Linked DNA regions of Homo sapiens: region 1 is linked to region 2. The links are contacts of gene promoters, found by promoter capture Hi-C in blood cells and fetal thymus (Javierre and others, 2016). All regions are on one chromosome and are shown on one strand. Each heading gives the region's core, a stretch centred on a gene start or on the middle of the fragment in contact. The rest is flanking DNA. Distances are from core to core; before and after follow the strand shown.

The links. Contacts are between HindIII fragments. The CHiCAGO score rates a contact against its expected background, and 5 or more counts as called.
Region 1: a contact is called between a fragment that was not itself captured here and the fragment with the promoter of CHD4 in region 2, in 3 of 17 cell types (activated CD4 T cells, naive CD4 T cells and total CD8 T cells). The highest score is 6.6, in activated CD4 T cells.

The regions. Positions count from the first base shown.
Region 1 is chr12:6,547,377-6,553,675 of GRCh38, forward strand. IFFO1 (intermediate filament family orphan 1) reads right to left here. Exons shown (of 10, transcript NM_001193457.2): 2 at 3,565-3,625; 3 at 3,319-3,414; 4 at 2,380-2,520; 5 at 2,100-2,108; 6 at 1,292-1,473; 7 at 1,049-1,169; 8 at 689-784. Among named protein-coding and RNA genes, the nearest start is that of IFFO1, 5.5 kb to the right of the region's middle. RefSeq lists enhancers at 2,040-2,540, 2,541-3,041, 3,721-4,220, 4,493-5,010. The HindIII fragment of the contact is 251 bases long and covers 1,826-2,076 here.
Region 2 is chr12:6,605,381-6,611,476 of GRCh38, forward strand. CHD4 (chromodomain helicase DNA binding protein 4) reads right to left here and starts at 1,999. Exons shown (of 40, transcript NM_001273.5): 1 at 1,920-1,999; 2 at 894-1,071. The coding sequence starts at 993. It overlaps LOC124902867 (a long non-coding RNA gene), which reads left to right and starts at 506. Exons shown (of 2, transcript XR_007063193.1): 1 at 506-615; 2 at 3,735-3,930. RefSeq lists enhancers at 570-729, 2,470-2,619 and silencers at 1,080-1,129, 1,310-1,369, 1,780-1,879. The HindIII fragment of the contact is 30,599 bases long and covers 1-6,096 here.

The sequences.
Region 1 (6,299 bases), core at 701-3,200, 58 kb before region 2:
AGACCCTGTCTCAAAAAAAGAAAGAAAGAAAGAAAGAAAGAAAAAGAAACAGGTGTAGGGCTGGACACATGGCTCATGTCTCTAATTCTAGTACTTTGGGAGGCCGAGGCAGGAGGATCACTTAAGCCCAAGAGTTTAAGACCTGCCTGGGAAACACAGGGAGACACCATCTCTACAAAAAAATACAAATAAAAATTAGCTGGGTATGGTGGCACACACCTGTGGGCCCAGCTACTCAGAAGGCTGGGGTGGGAGGATCACTCCAGCCTAGGCAACAGAGTGAAACAGAGTGAGACCTTGTCTCAAAAAAGAAAGGACAGAAAGACAAGGGAGAGAGGGAGGGAGGGATAGAGGGGGAGGGGAAGAGAGAGAGAGAGAGAAAGGAAGGAAGGAAGGAAGGAAAGAAAGGAAAGGAAAGGAAAGGAAAGGAGGGGCTCAGAGGGAACAAGTAACTTATTACAAGTTCAGGGTGGTTGTAAGTAACAGAGCTGAGATTTGAACCGATATCTGTCTGTTTCCAGAGCCTGAGGTCTTCAGAGCCCACCAGGAGGACTATAGCTGAGAGATCACTCCTCCTCCCAAGACCTTGGTCTCTAGGGTCCTGCAGCAGGGATGAGGCCACTGCGCCTGCAGCCCCACTCAAAACCCTCTGGGACACCACGCCCCTGGCTTCCGCTCCTGCCCTTACCTCTATCTGGTCAATGGTCTCCTGATACTCCTTCTCCCGGGTTTTGAACAGGGACTCCGTATCTTTAATCACCTTCTCCAGGCTATCTTCCTGCTGCTGGAGTAGAAAGGGAAGCGGGGGAGGCCAGCCAAGGAGGGATGGGATGGGACGCATTCCAAAGGGCCAAGTCAGGGAGAGAGAGAGAGAGGAAGTCTGGTTAAAGAAACTGGAGAAAGAAAAGCAAAAGGATAAAGGAAGAGGGGAGACGCAGGTAGAGGATGACAGCCACATGGGGGGACAGAGCAAGGAGAGGAGCGGGGGAGTGGGCTTCAGGCTGGAGAGGCAGAGCCAGAGGGCCCTGAGGCCGGGAGCAGAGGTTACCTCTCCCTGGGCCTCTGCAGCTGCCATGGCATAGCCTGAGAAATCCTCCCAAAGCAGCAGGGTCTCCTCAGTCTCCTCCCAAGTCAGGCTGTCACAGTCGTCCTCAAAATCATACTCCCTCCTAGAGACAGGGAACCCGGGTGTCAGGGCGGGCGGGGCCTCGTCCTGGCGGGGGACTGGGGAGCTCCGGCCTCCTGGGCTGCTGTGGCGTCGGTGCTGCGGGAGCACGGCCTGCGGACTCACAGCTGGTTGAGCATGCGCTGCATCTCCTCGTTGATGCTGAGGGCTGTGCTCTCCTCCTCATCCCCATCGGGCTGGCGGGGCCCCTCACTCTCCGACAGGGAGGTGTCCTCCTCGACGGCAGCCTTGCGCTCCCGCTTCCGCCCCCCCATGGATGGGACCTTAATGGGAGACAAGTGCAGAGACTACAGAGACGAGGCCGGGTGCATGAGGAGAAAGGGCGGGAGCGGGAGGCCGGGCAGAGAGGGTGGGAATGGGGGAGAAGCATGAACCAGTAGGAAGGGGGGGCAGACAGAGAGAAAAGTCACAGTTACAATGACAGGAACAGAAACACGGACAGTCACCAAGGGCCAGACACACAGCGGGGGTCAGGGCTGCAAACCGAGAAGGCAGAACAAGAAGAAATCGAGAAGAAGAGCAGTCAGACAAGGAAGGAAGGGCTCGCTGGGGCTGCAGTCAGATGTGCATGATGGCTCAAGAGGAAATTTTTTTCTAAAAAAAGTCTTTTTGATTAAATGACTCAACTAAAAAAAAAAAAGCTTTAGGACGCAAGGAGGATGAGTGTGCAATGTGTACAAAAGAGAACCTGAATCACATCCAGATCTGGAAAGCCGGGGGAGAAGGGAGAGAAAGAAATGCAGTCAAGAGAACAAGAGATAGAGAGAAAAAGGGGGAAGAGCAAGGAAAAGGGAAAGGGCAGAAAAAAATCCGTGCTCAAGAGCCCAGCGGGCCCAAACTGAGGGCCAGGAGGCCTAGGCAGCTTAGAAACTGGGACTGGGACATTAATAAGCTTGCGTGAGATCAAACTAACCAGCTTCTTCTGTGGAGGAAGCAAGAGAGAAGATGAGAGGAAGAGAGGAGAGGAAGCAGACAGAGGAGAGAGAGGGGGAAGGGAGAGACGGCGTTAGAGACAGCTTCCACGATGCCCCTCCTGATGCTGCTCCTTACCCCCCAGTCTAGCCCCGTGAGGGCCCCAGTTGCCAGGTAAGGCTCCCCAAGCAGGAGGCAGGGCCTGCGTTCCAGGCCAGCCGCCACGGAAGCATCCACCTGCCCCACCCACCCCTGAGAGCAGAGGGCAGCTCCGTCCTCACCTGGAACATCTGGATCATGTCCTCGCAGTTGCGCTGCTGAGCCACATCGCAGAGCTTGGCGGTGATGTCGATGCGGCGGCAGATGTCCATATCCACCTTCATGGCTTTCTCCTGGATCTTGGTGTCCAGCTCCGACAGGTTCTGTCCAGGGAGCCCAGGGAACAGTGAGGAGGCGCCCAGTTCTCCAGACAAGGACGAATTAGGCCTGGCAAGGTCCTCATCCTTCCCACCACATTGCACCGGTGCCTCTTCTGTGGAGTCTCCCTGAGCTGACTGCACCCCTCTTCCTGGGTAGCGGTGGCCTCCCCACAGCACTGTGTGAATATGCTGGGCATGGGGCGGCTCGGGCCACTGCTCCCTGGCCAAACGGAAGCCCTGGAGGGCATGGCCAGTGCCTGGGACATGCAGGGGGCTCACTGGAACGACTAGCGGTCCTCATCCTCCTAGAACTTACATTCCCAGAGAGAAAGAGACTCCTGGGAATTATAAGAGTGGAGAAAGGACTATAATAATCGCAACAGCTAACACTCTTCCAGCTAACACTGCATGCTGGGCACTGTCCCGAGTACATGACCACCCTCACAATACTCCTGCAGAGCGCACGCGTTTATTTCCCCACGCCAAAGGTGAGGCCTCAGAGGCTGAGGAATCGGCCCAGCGCCCCGGCGCCAGCTGCAGAGCCTCCACCCCAGAAGCTGCTCACTAACTGCTCTGCAACCCCAGGCCCTCAGAAGCTGCGCCACCTCTGTGACGCAACACCGAGACTTTTGTTGCTTGTCTTTCTCTGGAGTTAGGGGTGGCTAGGGGAAAAAGGGAAGGAAAGCAAAGAGAAGGGGAGGAGCCGTGGACGGGAGGCCAACAGGCCAACACTAGAAGGGCCTACTCTTCTGGCCTCAGAAGCCTCACTTCGACCCTCGGGAAGCCTGGGGCTGCACTCACGTTACTCATGAGCCCCTTGAAGACCACCAGCTCAGCCTTCAACTGTTCCACCTTCAGTGCCAGCTCCTCCTGGCAGGCATCAGCCTCCTGGGCTTCCTGCAGTTGGGAGAAACCCTGATGTTGGTGGCACTGCCGAGGTGGGAGGAAGATAAAGATGCCAAGGAGGGACAGGGAGACGGCAGCAGGGTCATGGGCAGACAGGGGTACCCAGGGAAGCACCAGCAGCAAGTGGGGCGCCACCCTCACCTCCTGGAGCTCATTTACACGGTCTTGCAGCTGGATCCGCACCGTGTACTCCTCTTCCCACCTGACAGACATGGGAAGGGCGGAGAGAGCTTAGGTACAGAGTCCTTCCCTGCCCCCATGGCTCCCTGTCCCCACCTCTCTGGCTCAGGCCTCAGACCCCAGTTCTGGTTCCCTGGATGGGGAGGAGCAGGGCACAGGAATGCCTGGCCAGCCAGCTGGTGACCAACTGCAGCTGTCACGCGGCTCTGTGCTTCCTGATGGGCGTCGAGCTCGCCAGCTGCCTTCCCGGAACCTCCGGGCTGTGCACCAGGAGCTCTGTTTGGGCAAGTGCTGAGGCTCCGGTCCTCCGTGATGCCCATCCCTGCTCAGGCCCCAGCTCAGCCAGCTGTCCGGCTGGCCTCATTGCCCACCTCCTGCCCACACCAGACCACCAGGTCCACCCGGCCCAGTCTCCCACCTTCAGTCGCACAGATCCGGGCTCCCGCCTCCTGCCCGCACCAGAACAGAGCTCGTCGAGCCCGCTGCCCTGCCTCTTGTGGTATCATTTAACCCTGTAAAAGCATCTGCAGGACACATAGTGTATCAACAGAGTGGGTCAAGAGCCTGGTAGGAGACACTCAAAGTCCTTCCCCACTAGCTCCAGAAACTACCCACCCAGAGCCTCCTCTAAGGGAGTCACAGAGAGGTGACCAGACTGGCTCAGAGGCCGGAAGTCCCACAGCAGCATGACAGCAGTGGACACACGAGCCTGGGGTTACTAGCACTCAAACCCAGAGGGAAAGAGAAAGTAGAGTATGTAAAGGGGCCCGGTGAGTACGGCAAATGAGAACTAGACACAGCCTGTTCCAGGGCCCAGAATTCAGAGATTAAGACTGCAAGTGGGCCGGACGACACCCTGGGCCACAGGGCAGGGTCCTAGGTAGGGCATGCTTCCCAGAGCCAGCTTTGTCATGTCTCATCAGCCATGGCAGGCAGTGCATATTCTATTCCATCACAGAGATGGAAGCCAGGGCAACGTGCTGCTTAGGACCCGCCCGGCATTCCAGGGCCCTGCAGTCTAGCTGGCGTAGCAGCACATCTCAAATCCTGTTCCTGTGAGCTCATCACTTCTGTCAACCCGAGAAGGGAGGGGAACTGCACCAAGAGAGAAACTTCAACACAAGAAAGGTGGTTAGGAAGGGGCCAAGAAGACAGCAAGAAAATTAAAATCTGAGTGGGCAGCTTCTGAAGCCTTGGGTGAAGCCCTTTCTTCCCCTTCCCTCCATCTTCCTTCCTGTGTCAGCCTCTGGGTCCCATCTCCTCATTCACAGCCGCACTGCAGTATTCCTAATAATAACTCCTCCACATCACCTCGACTGCCCCTCCCTGCTGGGCAGAGCAGGAGGAGGCAGCCAGCCCAGCCACCACCCTGCTGGCTCCCCACACAGCCCAGCTCCCAGCCTTCCTGGCTCCCAGCCCCCTTCCCTGTGTGTCCCGTAGGTGCTTCTCCCCTCCTCCCTGGCATTCTCATGCATACAGTCAGGCCACTAAGGGAACCAGTCGCATCAGATTATGTTTTCTTAGCTAAGACCCTTATCTTTTCTGGGTCTTGGTTTCTTCATCTATGATGTGAAGGCATGAACTGTGGTGCCCTCATGCGCCGGGAGCCCACGAGTCCCTGGAGGGAGACAGTAAGCCTGTCAAGGGCACGCTAACCCTGGACAAGATGTGTGAAAGAGGGCAGGAGGGGCTATCTGACAGTGAGCTCAACAGAGCCTGGAAGAAACTTAAGTAAGGCAGTTATAGCTAAAGGTTAAGCCTAAGGAAATCTTACAGGGTAAAAAAAATCTACAAATGAATCATCTGGAAGCCCACTACAGTTCTATTTGTTCTTTGGCCAGACTTCACACAGACAGGTTCATTTTCACCTCCATTTCCATCTGGTCTCACTTATAAGGTTCCCTTAACATGGGCAGAATTTGAGAGCGATATCCATGTGTTCTGCATGGACCAAATATCTCTCTTCCAAAAAACTGTATCCCTGGGTTGAAGAGAGAAAGCAGGGACCATTCCTATGTTGGGAAAATGGGGGCTCAAAAAAAGGTCACGCACAAGGCAGGGGAGCTGAAAATAGAACGCAGGAGGCCTTTAGCTACCTCCCAGTGTAGCGCTCAAGCCATCCCAGGCCTTCCAGGCAGAAGACAGGAGTTACAGTGTTGCTATAAAGAGACCAGAATGAGGGCAGGGAATCTAGGGAGGAAGAAGAGTCACTGCCAGTATCACGCACCATCCGAATCCAGCTAAGGCTCTCTACACAGCAGCGTGCTGCAGAGCGATGAGCTAATCAGTCCCCAAGGAATAACTCCTTCCTGTCCTGGACAGCTGGACCAAGGACAAACGCTCCTTCAGTTTAAAAAAAAAATGCTCCTGAGAACAGCAGTTGTTCCTGTGGTTATGGATGTATTCCAGAACTGTGCCTGTGCCACTGCTGAGCGCGTAGTTAACTCCTGCAGGGGCAGAGCAGGCTGGTTCTGGGTGGCAGAACGATGATTTCAGGACAACTGAAACTCCCAAGGACACATAACATGGACCACAACTAAGGAAGCCAGCACGAGGACAGGACTCAAGCTCAGAAAGCCTGCTGATCAGGTCAGGAGTTTGAGACTGGCCTGGACAACGCAAAAAGAAAAAAAAAAAATAGCCAGGCATGGACATGGTAGTGCACACCTGTAGTCCCAGCTACTCAAGAGGCTGAG
Region 2 (6,096 bases), core at 749-3,248:
GCTTAGGGGCATGACATCAACCATCATTTGAGGATAGACAACAGTTCCCCCAATCAGACAGGGTGGTTACAACCATACGGGTTTGGCCAGTTCATGAAGCCACCCCAAAACACAGATAGCGTAACCCCTAGCACACCTACACAGACACTTCACACTGCCAGCCTAAACCGCAGGCTACCTCATAGAGACAGAAGCCACTAGGAAAAAAGCCAAAACTATGTCCACTCACCAGGAGGAGGAGTGCCCTCCCTTCTTTTGCCCCTCTTCACTAGGCTATTACATCCTCCCCGAGCCCCCATCACTTCCCCACTCAAAACATTCCAGCAATCTGCCTGGCTGCTTTAAGCACTCCAGATCCTGCTGAGGAGCGCGATTCAAACTTCACACAGTTCAGACAGCACAGAAAACCGGTAACCGATCAGAAGCTAAAAATAATCAGATAGAGTGTAACCAGCACTCCCTCTTTCCTTTCCACAGCAGCAACCACAGGATCCTACTAGCACAGATGCCCGGCTGGTCTTTCAAACAGAATCCTCAACGCCCCCCTCCACCACCACCACCACAAGCCTCCAGGGGTCCCAGCTACCTGCATTCCTCCGAGGACCCACATACCAGGTAATGCCTGCCAGCCCAGAGAGCTCCCTCAACTGGGAACTGCAGAGCATTCCTCAAGACAGAGTGCAGCAAGCTGGCATCTCCGTGCCCAGGAGGCACATGGCTTCCACCCCCCTCACACCAGAGCTCCGCAGAAGGGAACCACTCCCTTCGGATACCCTCCACCTCCGGCTCTGCACAGAGACAGCGGAGCAACACAGCCCTGCCTCACCAGAGGAGTCACTCGGGAGAGCCCCAGATGTCTCCTTCCCGCCATGGGCCCTTGGGGAAGATGTTACCTGGGTGGGGTGGGGGCAGGCTGTTGTTCAAAAGTGCATCCATATCCTCCTCCTCACTGCCCGCCGAGCAGGGGGACGGGGAGCCCAGGCCCGACGCCATCCCCTTCCGCTCCCGGCCAGGGAATTGGCCCAGCTGCTCCTGCCGGCGGCCTGAGGACCTCTACACTGGCCCGAGTCACTGTGCGGGGGAGGGGGGAGAAACACAGAACAGTCAGTGACGCGCACTGTCCCCCTCCCCCACACCCACCCGCTCTTTCCGCCCCCCACCCCAGCCACCCTAGCAGGGCACCCGAACCGCTCAGGCTGAACTTAGTTCCACACTCCTCGGGGGCAGCCCGGAAGCCGGCTCCCCGGCAGGCGCCCCCACGGAGCGAGGGAGCGACGCCTCCGAGGGCAGGCTGGTGCAAGCGCGGGGAGGGGAGACGCGGGGCTGGACCGAGCGGGGTGTGACGGGGGAGGGGGTCCGAGTGGCAGCGGCGCGGGGGGGCCAGGGGAGGCCGCAGGCGGCGAGGCGCTCGGGGACACAAGGTCACTTGGGGGTGGGGGGGCGCCTCCCTGCGCCCGGGGAGGGGCCAGTCCCCAGACAGGGCAGCTCTCCAAAGGCTGTCCTCTGGGACAACTCAGGTTCTCCTCAAGAGCTGCGGGGACGAGGGGGCGTGGAGGCTCGGGCGCTGCGGGGGGCCGGAGGCAGGGACGCGGGGGGCGAAAGCGTCCCACCGGGAAGGGGGCCGGGCCACGTGTCCCGGGGGGCAAGTGATCAAAGGGCGAGGGGGTGGGCGCCGGGCATTGTGGGAGACCAAGCCGGAGGCGGGGGGTCGCGGGGAGCAAGACTCCGGCAGGGTTAGGGCGGGGGCTGGGGAGGAGGCCGGGCGCCCTGCAGGGCCAGGAAAGGAAGGGTCGGCTCCTCTGGGCAAGGGGCGGTCCGCGGGTCCGGAGACGCCTGAGGAAGGGGCGGGTGACGGGATGACCCTCGGGGCTGGTAGGGCCGTGAGGGGCGTCTCTTTGGGAACCCCGCGCTCTCCTCACCCCGGAGCCGCCGCAGGTCGCGCTGGGTCCGGCTCGGTGTCACTCCCGCTCCGGCTCCTCCTCGCCGCGGCCGAAGGGGGGAAAATGGCTCCGGCTCCAGCGTCGCCTCTTAAAGGGCCTGAAACACCGGCCGGGAAATCCCACCGCACAGGCCCCGCCCCCCCACGGACAGCCCATAATAACCTCAACCAACTCCAACCCCCCCCTTCCACTACCGCCACCCTCCTCCCCAGGTCTCCCGGGCAACCCCCGCCCCCTCGTCGCTCAGGCAACCACTGGCCACGCCCCCTTCGCAGCGGGCGCGCGCGCGTCACCTGGGCAACCGCCCACCTCCTGGCCATCCCATAATACACACGGACACCCCCCCCCCCAACACACACACACACACACACACACACACACACACACACACACACAACACACACACACCCTGCCCCCCCACATTTCATACACATATGCCAGAGACTGCTGACATCTCAAAATATTGCAGACCTTTTGCAACTAACCCTCTTAGACATCCCATAATAGACATCCTTTGCCAACTTCTTCTTCACTCTTGGACCTAATGCTAACATCCCATAATAATTCATCACCCCTCCCTCCCCATGGCCATCCCATAATAAGCACCCCTCGCAGCACTTATGCCTCATATCCCATAATATTCAGCCCCATCCCCCACAGACATCCCATAATAACCATCCTTCATCCACCCCCAGTTTGATATCCCATAATAGTCAGAAACTCACCCCCCCCCATACTACAACAACGGACACTCGGCCTCCTCCCACACACATCCCGTAATAATCAGTCTCCCACTTTCTATACTGACATCCCATAATAACTAACCCCCTAGAGCTGCCCTCAGTCCCTGCAGGCCAGGGTCTAGAGGCTCACATCACCCCCAGCCTTCCCTCTTCTAGCTCCACAGCCTATAGTAAGTACCCCTCCTCTATCAAAAAGATAACCCATAATGATCAACAGCCCTACTGTCGCCCCACAGATGGACATCTAATCTCTTTTCCTCTAACACTGGAAAGCTATCCCATAATAATTTTACTCTCCTACCCACATCCTGACATCCCATAATAATTGCAAGGAGCCCGTGGTCAACCAAACATACCATAATACTCCCAACACAACCCAGTGTCACATCCCATAATGCTTCATCTCCACTCTACCACCCCTATACCCTTCGAGCCAGGCATCCCATAATATTCATATTCTTCCCACCCCCATCTCCAGGCGCTGTCAGTCTATTCTAACACCCAGAGCAGGGAGGGCCAGGCAGGCTACCCACGCTTCCTTGTCCCCGCCCCCACTTGCACACACCTTAATCCCTTTCTGGGCCAAAGTAGTATCCTGGCAAAAAGCCTCCTGATGTCTGGGACCCCAGCTTCCCTCATACCATCATTTCCAGACACTCGGGGGCTGGGAGCCCACCTAGGGCCCCACCCAGTCCCACCAAAATCTAGGTATTTTCCAGATGCTTACCTCCAGCTCCTAAGTTTTGAGGAACACCAACCAACCAAAATACCAAGCTGACAGATGAAACATTTACATGAAGTCTAATTCACCCTACAGCATCCCATAATAATTACCAACTCCCATCCAAAGACTATCTCTCAACATTCTAGCAATCCTCCCCCTCACCACATCCCCAGGTCAGGGATCTTTCACCAACACCCCCAGGCCATTCCTGGGGATGGACATCCCATCACGATGTGAACTCAGGTTCCTGCTCTATACACACCAAGAGTGAAGGCCTGCCCTCCCGCTACTCACCACTACTCATGTTCATTCAACCTGTGTTGACAGAGTACCTAGCAAGGCCGAGCTCCGCACCATGGAGAATCAAGGAAGACCAGGGGGCCTCCCTTCAAAAAGCATAAGCAACCAAGCAAACTATGATACACGACAGAATGGTGCCAAGGGAGAACTGCTGAGCACTGTTTCCCAATTTCCTGTTACAGAAAATAAAATCCCACTGGTTCCAAGAGAGAACATATCCCAATAAGATTTATCGTGGTCCTTCTAGAGGCTGGAAGATGATACTTAAAGGATTTATGGGTATAGACCATAGTCAACATGATCTCCTATCTGTTCCCTACTTACTAGGGGATTTTTCTTGGAAAGCAATGTTCATCCATCCAGCATTCCTAATACTGAAATCCTATAATATGTTCATGTCCTTCCTTCTTAAGAGACTCCACAATATACCAGCATTGTTTCCCTCATTCTTGAACACCAAATCCTGCTTATCCTCAATGTCCCATATTTTTCAGGCACTTTCCCATTTTATATCCTGAAGTCTCATAGTATCTCCAATGGCCTCCATCCTCATCTTGTTGGGGCCACATTCTCCACCTCAAAAAAAAAAAAATCTTTAGTTGTATAATGTTCCCCATCTTCCCCTGCCTGTATAGAAGTCAATATTCCAGCGGGGCATGGTGGCTCATGCCTGTAATCCCAGCACTTTGGGAGGCCAAGGCAGGTGGATCACAAGGTCAGGAGTTCAAGACCAGCCTGGCCAAAATGGTGAAACCCCGTCTCTACTAAACATACAAAAATTAGCCTGACATGGTGGCACGTGCCTGTAATCCTAGCTACTCAAGGGCTGAGGCAGGAGAATTGCTTGAACCCAGGAGGTAGAGGTTGCAGGGAGCTGAGATTGCACCACTGCACTACAGCCTGGGCAACAGAGCAAGACTCTGCCTCAGAAAAAAAAAAAAAAAAAAAGAAGTCAGCAGTCCAGGAAACCTTCTACATTGAATTATGCCCCAAGGTAGCCCTCCAGCGTATACCATCTCCTTCCCTTATTATGCATACCCTCCAGCCACCCTATGGACCCAATCCTAGAAGCTGAAATAACCGAATTTTTTTTGTTTTGTTTTTTGTTTTTTTGAGAGACAGGGTCTCAGTGGCGCAATCACAGCTCACTGCAACCTCAACCTCCTGGGCTCAAGTGATCATCCCACCTCAGCCTCCCACCTGTAGCTGGAACCACGGGCATACACCACCACACCCAGCTAATTTTTAAATTTATTGTAGAGACGGGGTTTCACTATGTTGCCAGGCTGATCTTGAACTTCTGGACTCAAGTGATCTTCCCACCTCAGGAAAGAGCCTAATTTTTTTTTTTTTTTTTTTTTTTGAGACGGAGTTTCGCTCTTGTTGCCCAGGCTGGAGTGCCATGGCGCGATCTCGGCTCACTGCAACCTCAGCCTCCCAGGTTCAAGTGATTTTCCTGCCTCAGCCTCCCGGGTAGCTGGGATTACAGGCATGTGCCACCATGCCCGGCTAATTTTGTATTTTTAGTAGAGACGGGGTTTCTCCATATTGGTCAGGCTGGTCTCGAACGCCCAAACTCAGGTGATCCGCCCGCCTCGGCCTCCCAAAGTGCTGGGATTACAGGCGTGAGCCACTGCGCCTGGCCAGGAAAGAGCCCAATCTTAAAACCCTTTGGCCCTCAGAAAACCTAACCCATCAGCCTGTCACTTTTCCCTTTTCCTGACTCCCAGAGATTCAGGACCTGAGTGAAAACCAATGTCCCAGCACCACTGCCTTGCTGCCCTAACCCCAGGCCAAGGATAATGTCTCCCTCTGCTCATGTACCTTTTTTGCATGGGTCCAAGACCTATGGAAGTGGGACGAGTTGAAAAGAAACTTGGACTTCCTTGTAGAAAGGGCCCTTTACTAACCAGTAGTGAGTGGGATGAACCTCATGCCATCTCTGCATTACCCTTCTCATCTCATTTTCCTAGAGGAAGGCCTGGCCAGATGGCTCTCCCCTTCTCTAGGATCCAAGGGACTGGAGAACTGGTACAAAGAAATGAGTTCAGGGAAGGCAAGAGCTTGCCTCAGGGAATTACAATCCCCCTGCTCCTGAGCAGAGCACCAGGGATGCAGACAAGTCTTCCGCTAGCTCCTGGCTGACTCTGTAGACCCACTAGCATTCCACATTTAACTCTCCTCATCTTAGGACTGGAGTTTTTGGCATCAAAGACATCAGGTCCTGTCAAAAGCTCCCTGTCACCTTTGAAGTAGGTGTTTTCTTTTTCCAACCTTCCCTTCAGCTCCCTGGCCCACCCTCTTGCTGCACTCATTGTGGCAAGCGGGCCATTCTCCCCCGTTCTGCAAGGCTTCCAGTTTCCCTCGTTAAATGCTCTCGACATCAAGA